2 separate regions of the Homo sapiens genome follow, and region 1 is linked to region 2. Evidence: promoter capture Hi-C in 16 types of primary human blood cells and fetal thymus (Javierre and others, 2016). All regions are on one chromosome and are shown on one strand. Each heading gives the region's core, a stretch centred on a gene start or on the middle of the fragment in contact. The rest is flanking DNA. Distances are from core to core; before and after follow the strand shown. Region 1 overlaps LOC124904790. Region 2 holds the start of CEACAM4 (CEA cell adhesion molecule 4).

Evidence for each region. The method cuts DNA at HindIII sites, captures the fragments that hold promoters and counts their contacts. A CHiCAGO score of 5 or more calls a contact.
Region 1: a fragment that was not itself captured here is called in contact with the fragment with the promoter of CEACAM4 in region 2 in 1 of 17 cell types (total B cells); the score reaches 5.5 in total B cells.

Annotation. Positions count from the first base shown.
Region 1 is chr19:41,172,580-41,176,633 of GRCh38, reverse strand. LOC124904790 reads left to right here. Exons shown (of 3, transcript XM_047439802.1): 2 at 565-675. Among named protein-coding and RNA genes, the nearest start is that of CYP2S1, 19 kb to the left of the region's middle. RefSeq lists an enhancer at 375-1,052. The HindIII fragment of the contact is 289 bases long and covers 1,106-1,394 here.
Region 2 is chr19:41,625,824-41,630,346 of GRCh38, reverse strand. CEACAM4 (CEA cell adhesion molecule 4) reads left to right here and starts at 3,273. Exons shown (of 7, transcript NM_001817.4): 1 at 3,273-3,447; 2 at 4,387-4,523. The coding sequence starts at 3,384. The HindIII fragment of the contact is 7,709 bases long and covers 1-4,523 here.

The DNA.
Region 1 (4,054 bases), core at 1-2,500, 450 kb after region 2:
CAGCACACAGTCCACATCCCTTCTTCTGCAACTGGCTTTTGTCCTTCAGCTTTTAAGATTCATTCATATCCATACAGCTGGCTCTGGATCACTAATTTTAATGCCTGGGAGGTGTTTCAGAGAAGGCTTTGGCACACCTCTCCATCCATTTAATTTCCCATCTGATCAGATCTCTAGGTTGTTTCTAATCTTTTCCTCTTAGAATCAGTTCTGCATCTATCTGGGTTGAGAATTTCCTCATTTCAAACGCCTGAGTCATGGGGTTCTGTTTTCTTCTGCCTCTAGCATTTGGCTTTGATCTGCCCGCTTCTGCCCTCCACACATTCTATTCTGGCTCTTTCCCCTCCCATCTAGGCCCCACCCATTCTCCTCTCAGAGCCCCAGGCCTCCAGGTTCCGCTCCCCTCCACCCTCCCCTCTGCAGCCAGAGGATCTTGAAACAGCGGGCATCTGAGATTATTTGTCTGAGCTGGTTTCCTCTCCTAGCCCAAAGTGGGGCGAGTGCAGGGACAGGGCTTGTCTGCCTTCCCTAGGCCTGTGTGCCCGTGCCTCACACTGCCATGAGATGAGGAAGACACAGTCATTAAACGGGATGAAAGTGTACCTGTCTCAACAACTGGCTTCCTGCTCACAGGTCGAGAGCGATCTTGGCTGTTGAAAATATGTGGATCGGCAGGTTAGTGGAGACAGGGGGAGTAGAAGAGGGGTGGTGGGTAAGTGGTGGGATAGGCAGGAACTGGAGCTTAACAGTTTAGCAGGAACATGTTTGGGGGATGGGATGGAGAGGAGTGTGGAGGCCCAAGCTTGAGGTCTGGGGGTTGGAAACCCAGGGGAACCGGAGTTACTGGAATTCAACTCATTGCCCTGCTAACACCACTGCCTCTTTCTTTTCCTTCCTTTTTTGTTTTTTGAGACAGAGTCTTGCTCTGTCGCCCAGGCTGGAGTGCAATGGTGCGATCTTGGCTCACTGCAACCTCCGCCTCCTGGGTTCAAGTGATTCTCCTGCTTCAGCCTCCTGAGTAGCTAGGATTACAGGTGCGCACCACCACACCCAGCTAACTTTTGTATTTTTAGTAGAGACGGGGTTTCGTCATGTTGGTCAAGCTTGTCTCGAACTCCTGACCTCAGGTGATCCATTTGCCTCGGCCTCCCAAAGTGCTGGGATTACAGGCGTGAGCCGCCGCTCCCGGCCTCAAAACAGACCAATTTAACAGCATTCCACCGATGTCCATGCTGAACCATGGGAATGGCGGCCTGTTCTTTCTCCTGGAGTCCATCCTCCTCTGCAGCCAGAATTCTTAGCCGGAGAGTGGTGCTGAGGGAGCACCCCACTGCGTCTTTTATGTGACTGGCCAAGTTGTCCAACCTCAGTTTTCCTCATCTGTAAATGAAGCTTATAACTGTACCTAGCATCCATTAATACTCTGAGGGAGATACTAACATATCATCTCCATCTTCAGATGAGGAAACTGAGGTTCAAGGACCCTAGGTCACCTGCCCAGAGTCACACAGCCCCTAAGTGTCTATGGCTCTGGGATGCTCCTTCTCTCCTTCTCCCACTGCTCTCTTCGTCTGGGGGCATTGTTTTGCTCCACTCCTACCCCCCAACACTCCCAGAACAGAGTGGACCCTCTGGGCTGTGATGATGAAGAAATGAATGAGTGCACTCTACTCTGATACCCACCTTTCCATATCTCGGTGGGACCCAAACCACCCCCACACTCTCACCTGCCTCCACCCTGTACCGCCCTGACTTTCTGCACTCGGCACACAGGCACCAGGGGGTGCCCCCAGCCTGCAAGTCACCCCATTGGGCTTTTGGAGAATGGGGCAGGGGGAGAGAAGGAGAATGGTCCAGAGACAGACTGAAAACCCTGGAGGTGAGGGGTGTGCAGAGAACCAGAGAGAGACGGACAGTAATCCTTTCTCTTCTTCTTCTTCTTCTTCTTCTTCTTCTTCTTCTTCTTCTTCTCCTCCTCCTCCTCCTCCTCCTCCTCCTCCTCCTGCTCCTCCTCCTCCTCCTCCTCCCTGGATTCCACTTTTACGCTGGCTCGGGATATGTGACCTTGGGCCTATAACTGAACTTCTCATCAGCAGATCGGGGATGACATGTGAGTGCAGCCCTCAGAGGTTTATGGGGATCATATGATGAATACCTGCGCAGCGTTTAGGCGAATACTTGCACGTAGCCAACGTGTGCCAGCTGGCGTTCACTGCCCTTCTGCTCTCCATGCTTTTTCTGTGCTAGGTGTGGCACCGAAATCTTACAACAGCCCGAAGTCGGCACCTTTATGATCTCCACTTTATTATGCTTTTCATAGGAATTCAGTTACATAAGTAATAGATGATTATGGGTTGATTACAAATTTCAGCCGGGTACGGTGGCTCAGGCCTTTCGGAGGCCAAGGTGGGAGGATCGCTGGAGCTCAGGAGTTCGAGACCAGCCTGGGCAACATAGCAAGGCCCCCATCTCTAGAAAAAATTTAAAAAATTTAAAAATTAGCTGGGTGTGGTGGCAGACGCCTGAAGTTCCACCTACTTGGGAGGCTGAGGAGGGAGGATCGCTCAAGTTCGAGGCTGCAGTGAGCCATGATCGCGCCATGGCCCTCCAGCCTGGGCAAAAGAGCAGGACCTTGTCTCCAAAAAAGGAAAGAGAAAAATAAAATTTCAAAGACTACAGAAAAATAACTCCCTTTCTCCCTTCAACCCACTATTCCCTGGCTGCTGTCTATTTCAGTCCCACCCCCAGCTGTCCATCGCCGGCCACTCCTGCCATTACTATTGTTCTAAAGCTGCCAGAGTCAGCCTGGCCTGGTTCTATTCTTTTCTATCTTTCTAGAAGGTAAGACCCACTCTGGGTGGGTCAGGAGGTTAGTGTGTTACTTTTTTTTTTTTTTTTTTTTGAGACGGAGTCTCGCTCTGTCACCCAGGTTGGAGTGCAGTGGTGCGATTTTGGTTCAATGCAACCTCTGCTTCCTGGGTTCAAGTGATTCTTCAGCCTCAGCCTCCGGAGTAGCTGGGATTACAGGCATGTGCCACTATGCCCAGCTAATTTGTGTATTTATAGTGGAGATGGCGTTTCACCATGTTGGCCAGGCTGGTCTCGAACTCCTGACCTCAAATGATCTGCCTGCCTCGGCCTCCCAAAGTGCTGGGATTACATGCGTGAGCCACTGCGCCCGGCCTCTATGCGTTACTTTGGAGAAGTCACGTTCCTCTTTACACACCCATGTGTCCAAATGTGAAGTCCATTCCATCTCCATTTAGTTCCAGTTTTTATTTCAACATGCTGCAGCTTCCAGAATAAGGAGTAGCTGGAGAAGATCCAGAGTGTGGCATGCAGAAAGCCCCTCCACCAGTGCCAGGCACTGAGGCCCCAGGGAACTCCTGACCTCCGCTCCTTTATGCAGAGTTGATGCCAGGCCTGCATCCAGGCCTGACTGGGTGATGCTGGGGAGGCAGTAGAGACAGAGACAGCCCTACCCCCATGGGGCCCACAGTCCAGTTGAGGAGGCAGGTTAGTCACCAGACCTTGACTGCCCAGAGTGGTCGGGGCTGGGATGGGGGAGGCCAGGGGGCCTGTGGGAGCCCAGAGTAAGTGCCTGCCCTGGCCGGAGAGTGGTGAGTATCAGGGAGGGCTTCCTGGAGGAGGGGATACATGGATCTGAAGAATGACTCGAGAAAGATCATGGGGAAGAGTGTTCCTGCAGGGGGAATAGCATGTTGGGTGGCTGAGAGGGTAGCAGGAGGGATTGGAGGAGACCAGGGTTTTTGATGATGATTTCAGCACAGAGTGCTGGGGCTGTGGGGGAGGTGGGGGAACTGATTTCTCACCTCAGGGAGGGGCAGGACTTTGGAGGAGAGAGGAGAGCAAACATTCCAGGTGGGGAAACACCTGTTACAAGCCATAAGAGGGAGTGTATGGCGCTGGAGGCCCAGCAAGGCCAGTGTGGTTTAGCACAGATCCTTGCTGTGGACACAGAGTTGGGAGTCCTTGGCAGACAGACAGCAGATTCTGCAGCTCTGTGAGTGACCAGGCTCACCTGGGAGAGAGG
Region 2 (4,523 bases), core at 2,024-4,523:
GGTTTGACTCTTTTCCCCTTGCTTGCTTCTGAAAATCATCCCAGAACACAAAAAAATAGACATTCTAAATGACGGGCACAAAATGGCTAATTAACAGCCACTAGCGTGGTTGCCACCATCTAAAACACTGGTACAAATGCCTGACATTCTCTGGCAGGATTTGTAAAATTTTCTTCACTTTCAAGAGATTAATAAGAAATGGAATGGGGCTCTCAAGCATTAAGGCATGCCAGGTTTTCTGGGGCTCCAGCTGGCTACATTTTATGGTTCTTTCTTGTGCACATTTTAAAGTTTATGAGCAAAATTACATCAAGGAAAATTCAGTACTCAATGATCATCATTCAACCTGTTTTAAAAAGCCCTGCATCTATAGGGTGGAAATGTAGAGTCTTCTAAATTCTCTATTTTTTTTTCTCTACCTACTTTGAATCTGCTGACTTTTCTACTGGTGTTGAGATAAAACTCACTGCTTATGGCATTCTAGCCCAGAGTTTTAAAAAAGAAATCTTGAAGGGCTTTAAAATTAATGGCTTTACAAATTAAACAACTCCATGATAAGAAACAACTTAGACACCTTTAGGAAATGTAAATTTAAGTTTGTCTAACTAATAATTGCTTATAATGGAGCACAATTAAAAATCAATAATTAAAAAAATACATGGTTATAAAAGTTAGGCTCTCAGATCATACAGGTCAAAATCTTGAACTCAGAGCAATAATTTAAGGTGTCTCTGTCCGACATAAACTTTTTTCTTCTTTTGCCATGCAGAGGCAAAAAAGAAAAAGCCAGGAAAAAAAGCTAAAATCCTTCCTCATCCACATTTGTTAATCAAGCAAACCACATCACCACCACCCGCCCCCCTCCAACCCACACAAAAAATCTAGTTTAAGGCTAGTTGGAGATTTTTTTTTCTTATACAATTCAGCCAGTTCTAGCTAAAGTGTAAGCAATTGAAAATTTAATCCTAAACTCATGTGAAACAGAAAAAAAAAAGATGCTGAAACTGTAGAGGTTTCATTTGTTTATTTGTTTATAAGTTACACTGCCATTAGAAACTGCTTTACCCAAAATATTTCCCCCAGCCTTCATTATATTACCTATAGGGGCAAATAAAGTTTATCCATGTTAACGATTCCAATTTGTCAGAAATACAATTGGATCCAGTTGACTTTAATCAACTAGTGAGTTTGTATTACTATCTCATCACTAAAATTCTAAAATGAAAGCTGTAAGATTTTTATTTGTTTGTGGATATGTGTTTAGGTGTGTTTTTGCATATGTACATGTATTATGGTCTATATTGTGTCTACATGACAAAATCCACCTTAGTTGGCCAGAAACGCCTTAATAAACTCTATTTGCATTTCCTTAGAGAAATGAGCATAAGAACATGGCTTTTACCCTAGTAGCATCGGGAGGGAATTCAGGGTCTTTCTAACAGTGAGGGGCAAACCCAATTCATTCCCTGACATCATTCACTGACATTCCCTCCAGGCTCTAACATATGTCTTTCTCACAAACACACCAAAACTGACACAAACTCCGGATATTCGATCCCAGGTGGATCTTCCACCAGGGCAGAATGACCACAAGAAAGTCAGGGAGTGATTCCCCAGCCTCGAGATCCCCAGTATTTGGGACATCTGCCTATGGTCCCTGCAGACATTTCACCAGGGGATCCAGGGGAACTTCTCCTGCAGGAGGGGACAGGATAACCCAGGATCTGCCTTTGTTTCCATCTCAGAGGGACTGAGGGTCACGGGGCCTCCCCTGCTCTAATACAGGAACCAGGTATCCCTTGCAGCCTGCAGGTAGGAGCTGCCCCAGCTCCTGGGCCCTGTGGAGAGGCCTGGGGCAGGTGACAGACAGGGACACAGATGACCTGGAGGCGGAACTCCCAGTGTTGTGATGGAGGAACACAGAACACACCGAGGACCACCTCCCAGGCCAGTGCCCTCTCTCTAAACCCCCAGAGACACCTCCCTGGGCCCTTCTTTTGAAACCTTGGGGACGGATGGCTCTTTCTGAGGCAGCCCATCCGCCTGCAGGACAGTTCTCCCAAATCAGGACCAGGAGTGCTCTGGACAACTCTCGTCCTCTCCCTGAGCTCATCCTGCACTGCATGGAGTTGGACATCCTGGGGACCCACAGTGAACAGGACCAAGGATGACCTGACCCTGCAGTCTGGAGGTCAGAGCCCACCTCTGCCCAGGGGCCAGGGCCAACTCATACCACGTGGACCCTGGTCAGCATCCCTGGGGAAGCCCCTGACTTTTACCACAGGGTTCCTCTTGCTCTCCAGGGGCAACATTGCACGCAGACAACACAGGAAATGGATTCCCCTGGACAGGAATCTGGCTTTGCTAAGGAGGTGGAGGTGAAGCCTGGTTTCCATACTTTGCTCCAGCAGGCCCTTCCAGTCCCTCCCATGTGCCTGCTCTGTCTCTCCTGATCCTTCCTGGAGCCTCTGAGGATCCTGCTCTGCCAGGATTCTCTGCTCAGTTCTCCACTTTCTCCTGGTATCATGCATGGGGAAGGTACAGTGACAACAGGACAATCACCTTCACAGAGGACAGAGGCCACCCGGGATGGTAAGGGAGAACATGCACAGGCCCTAAGCCACAGCTCAGCCAACAGAAACGGAGAGGGAGGATCTCCCTGAATCCCTCCTCAAGGACAGCAGAACCCAGAGCCACCCACCTCCCTCCACCACAGTCCTCTCTTCCCAGGACATGCAGGACACCTCCCTCCACATCCAGGAGCTGGGGATCCTCCTGAGACCCCCAGGCCTGGATCTCTGTCCCTGGGTCAGAGGCAAGGCTGGTGACACTGGAGAGAGAGGACTGGTCCCCCCCGTAGTCGCCCCCCATTTTCTATCCCACAGAGCCACCTCTGTCACCTTCCTGCTGGGTATCATCTCACACTCCCTGAGTATTGGGGAGCATGAGGAGACCTGGGGGCCCAGCTGGGTCTCTGTGTCACAAAAGGAAACAGTTCCCCAAGTTTGGGAGACCCCAGAGTACCTCTGTTTGTGGTGACATTCCCAAAGGGTCAGTGCAGGGGTGACAAGTCACCCTCTCTGGGGACAGGGGACTCCACCAACCCTGCTTCTCAAAGTGTGGTTAGGAAACTGTAATGTACACAGAAGAGAAAGGGGAAGGAGGGACAAAAAAGGCAGAAATGAGAGGGGAGGGGCAGAGGGGTGACCTGGGAAGAGCCCCGCCTCTGCCCCTGGCCCTGGGAAGTGCTTCTGCCCGGGAGGAGGCTCAGCACAGAAGGAGGAAGGTCAGCAGCCCCGACAGCCGACAGTCACAGCAGCTCTGACAAGAGCGTTCCTGGAGCCCAGCTCCTCTCCACAGAGGACAAGCAGGCAGCAGAGACCATGGGCCCCCCCTCAGCCGCTCCCCGTGGAGGGCACAGGCCCTGGCAGGGGCTCCTGATCACAGGTGAGGGGAGGACTCTCTGGGAGTGGTGGGAAGAGGGAGCACAGAGACTGACTGGGGTCTCTTGGGTAGGAGGGGATAGAGGGCTTCTGGCTGGGGTCTCCTGGGGCTCTGAGAGGGGACTGAGGGCCTCTGTTGGAGGCTGGATAAGGGAGAGAACATCAGAGAGGGGCAGGGGTCACAACAGGAAAATCTCAGTGAACTGGAATTGGTAAAAGGCAGGAAAATCTCAAGTGTTCTCTCGTCCTGGTTAATCATCACTGGCCACTACATTTTGAAAAATGATAATAACTATACCAGATGACACTTCAAATAAAAACATAACCAGGGCATAAAACACTGCTCTTAGCCAACAACCTCAGACACTGGGAAATAAACCTCAGGACTTGGAGGCCCTGAGAATGCTCATGAACTCATCTACAGGAGTCTGCAGCCTGTGCCAGGCACTGGGGTGCAACCAAGATCACACAAGTCCCCGCCCTCACAGAGCTCACGCTCTCATGGGGAGGAAGACAAACACCTAAAGAGATCTAGAATGTGAGGTCAGGTGCTGACAAGAGCCCTGGAGGGAACAGAGCTGGGAAAGGTCAGAAAGGGAAGACCCAGGGTCTCTAGAGGAGGTGTCAGGGGAGGGGTCTCCCAAAAACACCCTGATGTGAGCAGGATCTGAGGGCAGTGGGGAGGGAGCCGTGCAGACCCCTGGGGAAGAAGATTCCACCAGGGAAATGCCAAGGTCCAAGCTGTTGAAGGAATGGGGGTCATGCTGCTGACCCAGGGACACACACACACACACACACACACACACACACACACACACACACACACACACACACACACACTCCAAGGCTGAGGGATGAGGAGACCTGCTGAGGACCCAGGGCCTTATCTTTCCATCCCACTCCATAGGTCCCAGTATTGACTGATGCTGTCTTCACCTCCTAGCCTCACTTTTAACCTTCTGGCACCCGCCCACCACTGTCCAGTTCACTATTGAAGCCCTGCCGTCCAGTGCTGCAGAGGGAAAGGATGTTCTTCTACTGGCCTGCAATATTTCAGAAACTATTCAAGCCTATTATTGG